2 separate regions of the Homo sapiens genome follow, and region 1 is linked to region 2. The links are contacts of gene promoters, found by promoter capture Hi-C in human tissues and cell types (Jung and others, 2019). All regions are on one chromosome and are shown on one strand. The core of a region is centred on a gene start or on the middle of the fragment in contact, and the rest is flanking DNA. Distances in the headings are between cores, read along the strand shown. Region 1 has its middle 38 kb from the start of VSTM2A. Region 2 holds the start of VSTM2A (V-set and transmembrane domain containing 2A).

Evidence for each region. Contacts are between HindIII fragments. The study calls those that stand out against the background at their distance.
Region 1: a fragment that was not itself captured here is called in contact with the fragment with the promoter of VSTM2A in region 2 in 2 of the 25 tissues and cell types used here (spleen and stomach).

Annotation. Positions count from the first base shown.
Region 1 is chr7:54,501,878-54,507,118 of GRCh38, forward strand. No RefSeq gene overlaps it. Among named protein-coding and RNA genes, the nearest start is that of VSTM2A, 38 kb to the right of the region's middle. The HindIII fragment of the contact is 3,110 bases long and covers 173-3,282 here.
Region 2 is chr7:54,539,262-54,545,155 of GRCh38, forward strand. It overlaps VSTM2A (V-set and transmembrane domain containing 2A), which reads left to right and starts at 3,114. Exons shown (of 5, transcript NM_001301009.2): 1 at 3,114-3,548; 2 at 5,361-5,527. The coding sequence starts at 3,470. RefSeq lists enhancers at 2,752-3,252, 5,546-5,894. The HindIII fragment of the contact is 8,953 bases long and covers 1-4,379 here.

The DNA of each region.
Region 1 (5,241 bases), core at 478-2,977, 39 kb before region 2:
TAAATTTCCCTCTACACACTGCTTTGAATGTGTCCCAGAGATTCTGGTATGCTGTGTCTTTGTTCTCGTTGGTTTCAAAGAACATCTTTATTTCTGCCTTCATTTTGTTATGTACCCAGTAGTCATTCAGGAGCAGGTTGTTCAGTTTCCATGTAGTTGAGTGGTTTTGAGTGAGTTTCTTAATCCTGAGTTCTAGTTTGATTGCACTGTGGTCTGAGAGACGGTTTGTTATAATTTCTGTTCTTTTCCATTTGCTGAGGAGTGCTTTATTTCCAACTATGTGGTCAATTTTGGAATAGGTGTGGTGTGGTGCTGAAAAAAATGTATATTCTGTTGATTTGGGGTGGAGAGTTCTGTAGATGTCTATTAGGTCCACTTGGTGCAGAGCTGAGTTCAATTCCTGGGTATCCTTGTTAACCTTCTGTCTCATCGATCTGTCTAATGTTGACAGTGGGGTATTAAGGTCTCCCATTATTATTGTGTGGGAGTCTAAGTCTCTTTGTAGGTCACTCAGGACTTGCTTTATGAATCTGGGTGCTCCTGTATTGGGTGCATATATATTTAGGATAGTTAGCTCTTCTTGTTGAATTGATCCCTTTACCATTATGTAATGGCCTTCTTTGTCTCTTTTGATCTTTGTTGGTTTAAAGTCTGTTTTATCAGAGACTAGGATTGCAAGCCCTACCTTTTTTTGTTTTCCATTTGCTTGGTAGATCTTCCTCCATCCCTTTATTTTGAGCCTATGTGTGTCTCTGCACGTGAGATGGGTTTCCTGAATACAACACACTGATGGGTCTTGACTCTTTATCCAATTTGCCAGTCTGTGTCTTTTAACTGGAACATTTAGCCCATTTACGTTTAAAGTTAATATTGTTATGTGTGAATTTGATCCTGTCATTATGATGTTAGCTGGTTATTTTGCTCGTTAGTTGATGCAGTTTCTTCCTAGCCTTGATGGTCTTTACAATTTGGCATGTTTTTGCAGTGGCTGGTACCGGTTGTTCCTTTCCATGTTTAGTGCTTCCTTCAGGAGCTCTTTTAGGGCAGGCCTGGTGGTGACAAAATCTCTCAGCGTTTGCTTGTCTGTAAAGGATTTTATTTCTCCTTCACTTATGAAGCTTAGTTTCTCTGGATATGAAATTCTGGGTTGAAAATTCTTTTCTTTAAGAATGTTGAATATTGGCCCCCACTCTCTTCTGGCTTGTAGAGTTTCTGCTGAGAGATCAGCTGTTAGTCTGATGGGCTTCCCTTTGTGGGTAACCCGACCTTTCTCTCTGGCTGCTCTTAACATTTTTTCCTTCATTTCAACTTTGGTGAATCTGACAATTATGTGTCTTGCAGTTGCTCTTCTCCAGGCGTTCTCTGTATTTCCTGAAGCTGAATGTTGGCCTGCCTTGCTGGATTGGGGAAGTTCTCCTGGATAATATCCTGCAGAGTGTTTTCCAACTTTGTTCCATTCTCCCCGTCACTTTCAGGTACACCAATCAGACGTAGATTTGGTCTTTTCACATAGTCCCATATTTCTTGGAGACTTTGTCGTTTCTTTTTATTCTTTTTTCTCTAAACTTCCCTTCTTGCTTCATTTCATTCATTTCATCTTCCATGACTGATACCCTTTCTTCCATTTGATCGCATCAACTCCTGAGGCTTCTGCATTCTTCACGTAGTTCTCAAGCCTTGGCTTTCAGCTCCATCAGTTCCTTTAAGCACTTCTCTGCATTGGTTACTCTAGTTATACATTCATCTCATTTTTTTTCAAAGTTTTTAACTTCTTTGCCATTAGTTTGAATTTCCTCCTGTAGCTCAGAGTAGTTTGATCGTCTGAAGCCTTCTTCTCTCAACTCGTCAAAGTCATTCTCCGTCCAGCTTTGTTCCATTGCTGGTGAGGAACTGCATTCCTTTGGAGGAGGGGAGGTGCTCTGCTTTTTAGAGTTTCCAGTTTTTCTGCTCTGTTTTTTCCCCATCTTTGTGGTTTTATCTACTTTTGGTGTTTGATGATGGTGACATACAGATGGGTTTTTGGTGTGGATGTCCTTTCTGTTTGTTAGTTTTCCTTCTAACAGACAGGACCCTCAGCTGCAGGTCTGTTGGAGTTTGCTAGAGGTCCACTCCAGACCCTGTTTTCCTGGGTACCAGCAGCGGTGGCTGCAGAACAGCCGTGGCTGTAGAACAGCAGATTTTCGTGAACTGCAAATGCTGCTGCCTGATCGTTCCTCTGGAAGTTTTGTCTCAGAGGAGTACCCCACCGTGTGAGGTGTCAGTCTGCCCCTACTAGGGGGTGCCTCCCAGTTAGGCTGCTCAGGGGTCAGGGACCCACTTGAGGAGGCAGTCTGCCCATTCTCAGATCTCCAGCTGCATGCTGGGAGAACCACTACTCTCTTCAAAGCTGTCAGACAGGCACGTTTAAGTCTGCAGAGGTTACTGCTGTCTTTTTGTTTGTCTGTGCCCTGCCCCCAGAGGTGGAGCCTACAGAGGCAGGCAGGCCTCCTTGAGCTGTGGTGGGCTCCACCCAGTTCAAGCTTCCCCACTGCTTTGTTTACCTAAGCAAGCCTGGGCAATGGTGGGCACCCCTCCCCCAGCCTCACTGCCGCCTTGCAGTTTGATCTCAGACTGCTGTGCTAGCAATCAGTGAGACTCCGTGGACATAGGACCCTCTGAGCCAGGTGCAGGATATAATCTCCTGGTGTGCCATTTTTTAAGCCCATTGGAAAAGCGCAGTATTGGGGTGGGAGTGACCCAATTTTCCAGGTGCCGTCTGTCACCCCTTTCTTTGACTAGGAAAGGGAACTCCCTGACCCCTTGCACTTCCCGAGTGAGGCAATGCCTCGCCCTGCTTCGGCTCGCGCACGGTGCGCTGCATGCACTGTCCTGCACCCACTTTCTGGCACTCCCTAGTGACATGAACCCAGTACCTCAGATGGAAATGCAGAAATCACCTGTCTTCTGCGTCACTCACGCTGGGAGCTGTAGACTGGAGCTGTTCCTCTTAGGCCATCTTGGCTCCACCGAGTCTGAACATTTCTAAGAGCCATTTTTTTCTTCTCTTATATGTGCATTTAAAATAAGCCATAAATTTCCTCTCAAACATTGTTTCAACTCTCTCTCACGTGAAATTTATATGCTTTGCTTTTCTATAACTCATATAAAAAGATTTCAAATTTTTATTGCGATCACTTTTGTGACCTATAGATTTTTAAAAGTTTGTTGCTTAATTTCCAACCATCTAAGGATTTTCTAGTTATCTTTCTGTTATTGGTTTCTGGTTTAATTCCACTATAATCAGAGATTATAACTTGCATTATTATATTTCATTCCTTTGAAATTTACTAAAACCTGCTTTGTGGCCCTGCATAATATAGTTTATTTTGATAAATGACACATGTGCCCATGTGTACTAGAAAGAAATGTGAATGCTACAGTTGTGGGAAGTGGTGTTCTCCATGTGTCAATTAGGTCAAATTATTTAATCCTGTTGTCCAAATCTTCTGTTTTACTGATATTGAGATTGTTCACTCTGCTACTTGTGGTGTGTTGAAATCTCTACTGATGAAAAGATTTCTATTTCTCCTTGTTTCTCTACAATTTTTGTTTAGTATATTTTGATGTTATTAAATACATACAAATTTATTGTTTGATTTCTTCTTGTTAAATTGGCATTTTCATCATTATAAAATCCCCCTCTTTATGTCTAGGAATAATTTAAAGTCTGATTTTTCTGGTAGTACTATAATCACACCATGATTTTACTGGTTACTGCTTTCTTCATACAGTCGATTCTCATTATCCATGTAATTATGCTCTATAAAGTTGCATGAATTAGTGTTAGTTGTGAGCACTGAATTAACAAATATTAAACCATTGTCCCCAGGGGAATTACTGGGTTAGGTTTCTGTGAGCCTCTGATCACAAACATTTCATGAACTGAGCAATACATAACCTTGTTTTATGTGTGTTTCTATATAATGACACCTTACCTAATATGCATTGTTAATTCATTAGCATTAAACGCACAGCCAACTGCACTATCACTCACACTGGCAGGAAGCTTCTCCAACACAGGTATTTTCTGCATAAGGCACATCACAGCCTTCTTGTTCTTGTGAACACCAGAACCTCAGCACTAACCTTGGGAGCAATTTTAAACAGAAAAGTCACCAACACAAAGCACAGAAATGCAAAAAAAATATGGCACTAAGTAGATCATAAAAAGGATACTTCTGAACAATGGAAGAGCTAAAACAAGAAGGCAGAATGGGACCTCATTTGACTTCGTCTGGGAATGTGCCCTTAAGAGACTCAAAATGTTCACCACTCTGCACAGGTTTGAGCACGACTGTGAAAACACAGAATACTGATTTAGGAGTTACAAATACATTTTGACTAGTAGGCAAACTTGGAATCAGTGAATAACGAGGACCACCTTTATATCTTCTTTCCAATCTTTCAATTTAAATCCTTCTGTGGCCTTATATCTAAAGTGTGTCTCTTTTTTATAGAAATGGTTGGATCATGCTCATTTTTTAATAACTATTATGACAATATCTGTTTTCAAACTGGAATGTTAGTACATTCAAAATTTATGTCATTTTTAATATAGTGCATTTTGAGCCTATCATCTTTCTATTCCCTTTGTAATTGTTTTACTTATTCTGTGCCCCCTTACTCCATCTTTTTTTGGGGGGGTTAATTATTATTTATTTTGCCTACATTTTATATTATGAAAATGTTATCTTAGTAGTACTCTATATAATTACAGTATTAGTAGTTTTTTTTTCTTATTATAATCTACCTTAAATTGGTGCATTACAAACTTTCCAAGGAGTGCAAGAGTCTTGAAACATTGCTTGCAGGGGAAGAGGCTCCTGTAATATTCCAATAGCACAAACCCCTTTCAACACTGAAAAGTCATTTACATTCCCTTCCCAATTCATCATCATGTCAAACAACACTTGGCTGTTTACAGAGAGACTGCATTTTACAGAGATCAGCTGAGTGTTTCATTATATTTTTATTATATTGCATTATGCAGATTCTACTATAAGGGAGACTGCTCAGACATGTTCTTCTGGTTACCCAACATCAATACATCAAAGATGAGGTAAATATTAGTAAATATTAATATTACATAGAACCTACAAAACAAACTTGTATAAAGTTTTAAAAACTCCCTTAAACTATATATTAATTGCAAAATAAATTATGAAATGCTTGTATAACACTGAGCAATTTCTATAATTAAAT
Region 2 (5,894 bases), core at 1,864-4,363:
ACAGGAACAGCTCATCTAACCCAGTGAGGACTGTCTTCCAATTCTTTAGATGGCTATTTTAAAAGTTATTTCTAAAGGAAATATCTAATTTTGTATCTTCCAGTTACTTATGAAAAACTTTTAAAGTTTACATTGGCTCTTAAGCCTCAACTTATGACAAATTTTGAAAGTGTGATATGGAAAGCCATTCTATCATGAGCCTATGGGAGTGAAATACAGTGATCTCCCTCAACTTCAAGATGGAAAAATGTCTCCAAATCCTTAGGAGAAAAGGACAGAGCCACAAAATATAAAGACCCTCCCCCTTGCCAGTTCAGCTCTTAGGTGGATCAATTGCTCTCAAAGTTTATGTAGAAGCCTACAGACATCACAAAGAAACAGTGTTTGAAAGAGTAAGTTAAATAAGTTTGAATATGTAAAAAAATGAACAAATATAATCTAAATAAGATGCCAAAGGAACACAATGGAATGATCTCCAACAGATTTTATTACGCCCGAGGAAAGAGCATGTTCAGATAAACATTCCTATTTTAGGTTTTGGGGGAAATGTCTGAATTTTTAAGAAGCAAAATAATGACCAAAAGCTCATTAAGAGGGCAACAAAGCAATCAAAAAGTGAGATGGTAGAATTTGATTTTTGGAGCACTATCAATAGGTATTTTTTAAGAAGAGATTTGCAGTTATTTTTATAGGATAAGGCATCAGCAATCATTTTGGCAAAGGAGAAATGGGCAGGAAATATTTCTCTTATATCTGGATGCAGACAAATTGTCTTTCTTGATAATTTACTTCCAATCTTGTAGGAGAGTACAGTGCTTTACAAGAACTTGTATAAAGAATTGGACCTAGTCTCAGAACTGTGATCATGTGATATACTGAATATATTTACTTCTTAATTAAATTTTCTCATTTCAAACTGTTAACACAGAGACAGTTTGTCATTAACAAGGCAAATGACCTATAGAAGATAATGCATACATGTTTATTAGCACTATTTACAGTCCTTGAGATGATATAACACATATTTAAGAAAAAACTTTGGTCTACATTGGTAAAACTAAAATACCCATCAGGCACTTTTCATAAGGAGAACAAAAGACTTTTCCAATTTCATCTTTCTCCTTTTTTTTTTCCTTCCCTCCTTTCTTCTTTGTTTCCTTCATAGCTTAAACGCTTATAACTTTATTTTAAAGTAATTCAATGGCTTATTTGTACTATAAAAGCTTTCTCACACTTTATTTTTCACACTCTTAAGCTTATTTTTATTGTACTTTTATTGTTACAGTGATCAAGTACTTCTTTTAAATAGTTGAAATGCTTTGCTAAATTAATTTAGAACTCCTCTTACTTAAAATAAATGCCCTTTATATTGAGAACTGTTTTAACAGCAGATAACCTTGAAGTCAGGTCATTTCCATGACATATTATACCCATGTTTATGCTAAAGGTTGAAATAAAGCCAAAATCATGTTAGCACATTGAAAACATCCTGTTAGGCTTAACATTTAAAGCATATGCAAGGTTTTGTTGTTTACTTTCCACGTAATGCTTAGTATGGTTCAGGTGTATTAACTTGGATTATGTTTCTATGTTCTGAACTCATTGTCCATGAATGTTTGAACATAAAGTGATTTCCTTTCTTAGAACGATAAACTTCAAAATCCTTTGCTAAATACAAGGAGGATACAGAGTCTGGTTGGCCTAAACATGAACAGATATAAAATATCTCCCATGATTGTCTCCAAATCCCATATTCTGCCCCTACTCACAGTAAAAAATAAATATACTTTCAGAAAATAAATAATATTGTGATGACGTTATTGTGTCTTTAGTTTTCTGAGCTTTAAGTTATTGCTGCATTCAGCAATAGAAGATAAGTGATTTAAAATGCAACCGCTATGTTAAGGTTAATTTTTTTTCTGGCTAGTAAAGGCATTAGCCAACTACAAATTCTTTATCTGTAAAATGAAAATACATACCCTACATTGGCTTCCTGATAGCATTATTAAGACTAATTCATATTTCAAACTAATACTGAAAATTTGTGGCATAGTTGCATAGAAATAATAATGGGAATAAAAAATGTGTGCTCTTCTTAGATGGCAAATGCTATTAATTTTGTTAAAAAAAATTTAAATCCACTAATAGTTGGATTGCATAAGGTCAGATAGAGTCTTTAACATAATATACATTGTTGTTTCAGTTCTTAATTAAAAATAGAATGTACATCTCAAATCTTCACCAAGGCAGATAAGTAGATTTGTTCCACATTCTGAAACTTATTGTGATTTTTTGTGTCTAAAATAAGATTCCTTATTCACTTAGTCCCAGGGAACATTACATAAGTATTGTGCTATGCAAAAGAAAAGCAAATAAACAAAACAAAATCACGTAATGAAGACCTTAACGGTATTTAAAACCCCTCCCCCCTCCAAAATACATGGAAGATGAAGGAAAAGAAGGCAGGAGGTATGTAATTTTTTAAAAAGTAAACATAGTATGGTGGGCTTTTCTTTCCAGAAAATTCCCTCAATGCGTGACTTTTTGTACTTTTTCTCTTCTCCGTCTGCCAGCTGGAGCGATATGGCTCCTGCATGAGCTGCTTGTACTGAAAGCTGTTCAGCAAGAAATTCGTGTGAAATCGTAGCATGTGATGCTCCTGGTTGGAGCAGTTAATAACTGGGTAAGCGGCATTTCCCTAAATGGCTGTTTTCCTCGGCCCACCCGTCTCTCCCCCATCCCATTGCTCCCCGGTCCTCAGCAATGCCCCAACTCCCTCCCGGAACCTTTTGCTCCGAGCCCCCCGCCAGCGCCGCAATCCCGTCACTGTATTGTCCTCCTCGGCACCGAGCGATCTGATCCGCCGAGCCAGAAAGACACCCGATGGGGGAGAGAAGCAAAGTGGAAAAAAACCGACGTCCCTGCTCTCCAGAAGGGAGACCCCAGCGGCGCCGACGAGCCCTGCGCCCTCCGCGGCCGCCCGGCGCGAGCTCCCGGGCGGGGCGCTGTCCAGCGCGCACAGAGTTAAAGGCATCATCGCAGCCATTAGAGGGAAAAGTTGCGGCGCCGCGAGCCCGGCGAAGTCCTCAGCCCGCCCCGCTTGCCCACTCCCCACTTCCCGAGCCGGCTCCGTGTTTAGGGAGGGCAGTGATCACGCAAGCCGGAGCGGCGGGCTGACGTTGGACGAGCTGCCAGGTAGCTGAAAGCAGGCAGCCAGGCAGCCGAGACACTTCCCAGCGATTCCAGCCTGGGCTCCGCAGGAAGCCTCGCTGAATCCCAGCCAGCTGGTTCTAACCTTCCAGAATCGCAATCCCTTCTCCCCACAGCCAGCCCTCGCCAAGCAAGCAGCAGGATGTTTGCAGTGTCGCGCCCAGGGCTCTGAGACTGAGCCTGCCATCCACTCGCACGCCTTTCTTTCAGGGCTTTTCGGCTGTTGGCTACACTGATGTGACCCCCCTCCCTTTTTGGAATGATGGGGATCTTTTTGGTGTATGTTGGATTTGTTTTCTTTTCCGTTTTATATGTACAACAAGGGCTTTCTTCTCAAGGTAAGTCTTGCTCAATGGCAAATATACATTTGCTTGCGTGTGTGTGTGTTTCCTACACTCAAAAAGAATGGACAGGCAGATAGAATAAGCTTCCTAGCAAGTAACAGTGGGCTTAGGCTGTATAAATAGTGTTCTGTTTGACGATTTTTTTTAAAGTTTATTAAACTGTAGACTAGCTAGGCTGGAGAGAAAATCTAGCTGGTGCCTGACAATGAGGTGGGCTCCTCGGTGAGCACAAACACAGGGTCGTGTGGTGTGTGTGTGTGGGTGTGTGTGTGCTTTCTATCTGTGTGCATGCACAGGGTAGCCACTCATGCATACATAATCATCGCAAACAAACACAGGGCTGGATACTGGGACTCTCCATTGCCAGTCCCTCTTCCTTGTGTAGTCAGACTGGGCTTAGAGTTTCCCTTTTGTAGGTCCGTGTGACTCCTTTTGTATGTGTGTTTATCAAAGGACAGACTCCTCTGAGGACCCATAAAAAGCCACAACTTGCATGACAAGCAGCAGCAGCCTGCTGAACCCGATTGTTCAGGACTTCGTAGGCTGCAGTGGTCGTTTCAGCACCATGAACAGATCACATCTCTGGTGCCAAAAGACTGCATCACTTCTGCAAGCAGAAATGCCATACTCCTTCTGCCAGCTAGAATAGAAAAGCCCTTTTCCGATCAGAATGTCTCCTTAATAGCTTCCCTGTTTTAGGTACAAATATAGTTTCATTTCACTAGAGATCATTTTTGGGATTTCATAAAATGTTGAAAAGAGACAGTGTCTCTCTTTAAACCGGGGGTGAGGTGAGGGGTGGGGGGAGGAGTGCATCCACCCCAAATCATTTCTGCATTCCCCATGGCCCTCTTCTCCATAAGTGTGCATTGTGGTTGTGCATTTCCACTGGCCATACAAATCTTCCCAGGACTGCTTTTAGGGAACCATCAGCTCTTTGCAAAGTGCCCCTTAGATAAGATAAGAACAACCACGTTGGTAACAAGATAAGAGCATTGCATGTTCAAGAAATGCCTTTAGGAGGAAGGAAACATTATATTTTTGTGAGTTTCACCAGGGTTGCATGAATCTTGCAAACTAGCAGTGTCAAGGTTGGTAATGAAAAGGCTGAGAAACATCTCCATAGTGACTTCTAAATAATATTTAATCTGAACTAAGCCTGGATGTGTGATCATTACATCTTAAGATGTATGGCAATTCAAAATACAGTGACTTGATGGGAACAAATAAAGGTTAATTTGGAGAGAAGGAAACATATACAGTTTATAAAGTGTGCAACTTGTTTCACTGCTGCAGGCGTGTTTCACTGGTGTTGCTAATAACCGTTTTGATGTATCAGGAATGTGCATTTTGACAGATAATCATGATCTACTCTGTTACATGAAACATCCAGTTAGTGGTAGATTGTTTAGAAACTTAGAGGCAAGAGACTCTCCTCATTTATCAACTTGACAGATTGCCTAAATTGTATCTCACTGACTCTCTCAGTAAATGTTGTGGAATACTGCAATCTGACAAAAGGTATTTGGATCTACCTGCGGGGATCTTGGCTAAGAGTTATTGGCAAGCTTGTTAACCTTTCCATTATCTGGATTTGATCAACAACATAGTGATTTAGGTATGATACCAAAAGTTAGACAGGAAAGAGGCAAAGGAAGGGGGCTGGGGGAACCAGACGAAGCCGAGGATGTAAGAGAGGGGTTTTGTTGCTATTTAAGTCCAGGAAAAATGTAGCGAGCTCTCAAGGAAAGAGACTCAGGCAAGAGGGGTGTGGATATTCCAACAGGATGCCTTTCTGTTTTGCAGCAAAATTTACCGAGTTTCCGCGGAACGTGACGGCGACCGAGGGGCAGAATGTGGAGATGTCCTGCGCCTTCCAGAGCGGCTCCGCCTCGGTGTATCTGGAGATCCAATGGTGGTTCCTGCGGGGGCCGGAGGACCTGGATCCCGGGGCCGAGGGGGCCGGCGCGCAGGTAGCGGAGCCCGCCGACCCCGCGTCTCCCCTTCGCTCGCCCGGTCCTCAGGGTGTCCGGCCCGGGGCTGGGGGCCGAGGTGCTGCCTGGACACCCCTGGGGACCTGCCCGGTTCTGTGGAAGCGAGTGACCCCCAGGGCTTCTAGGGAGGGAAAGGGAATTTGTCCTGGGGACGCGAAGTTAAAACCCAGAAGGAAGTCCTGCTGCCCAGTTTCTTCCTGTTAAACCGGGAAGCGCCTCCTCCTGTAAGTTCTGGTACTTAGGCAGATGCCCGCCTTGCCCCTACCACGCTGCCACATCCCGGGACATCCGGGAGCCCCTTTCCAGGACGAAAGGAGGGGGAGGGGAATCGGTGGGCGGCCTCCAC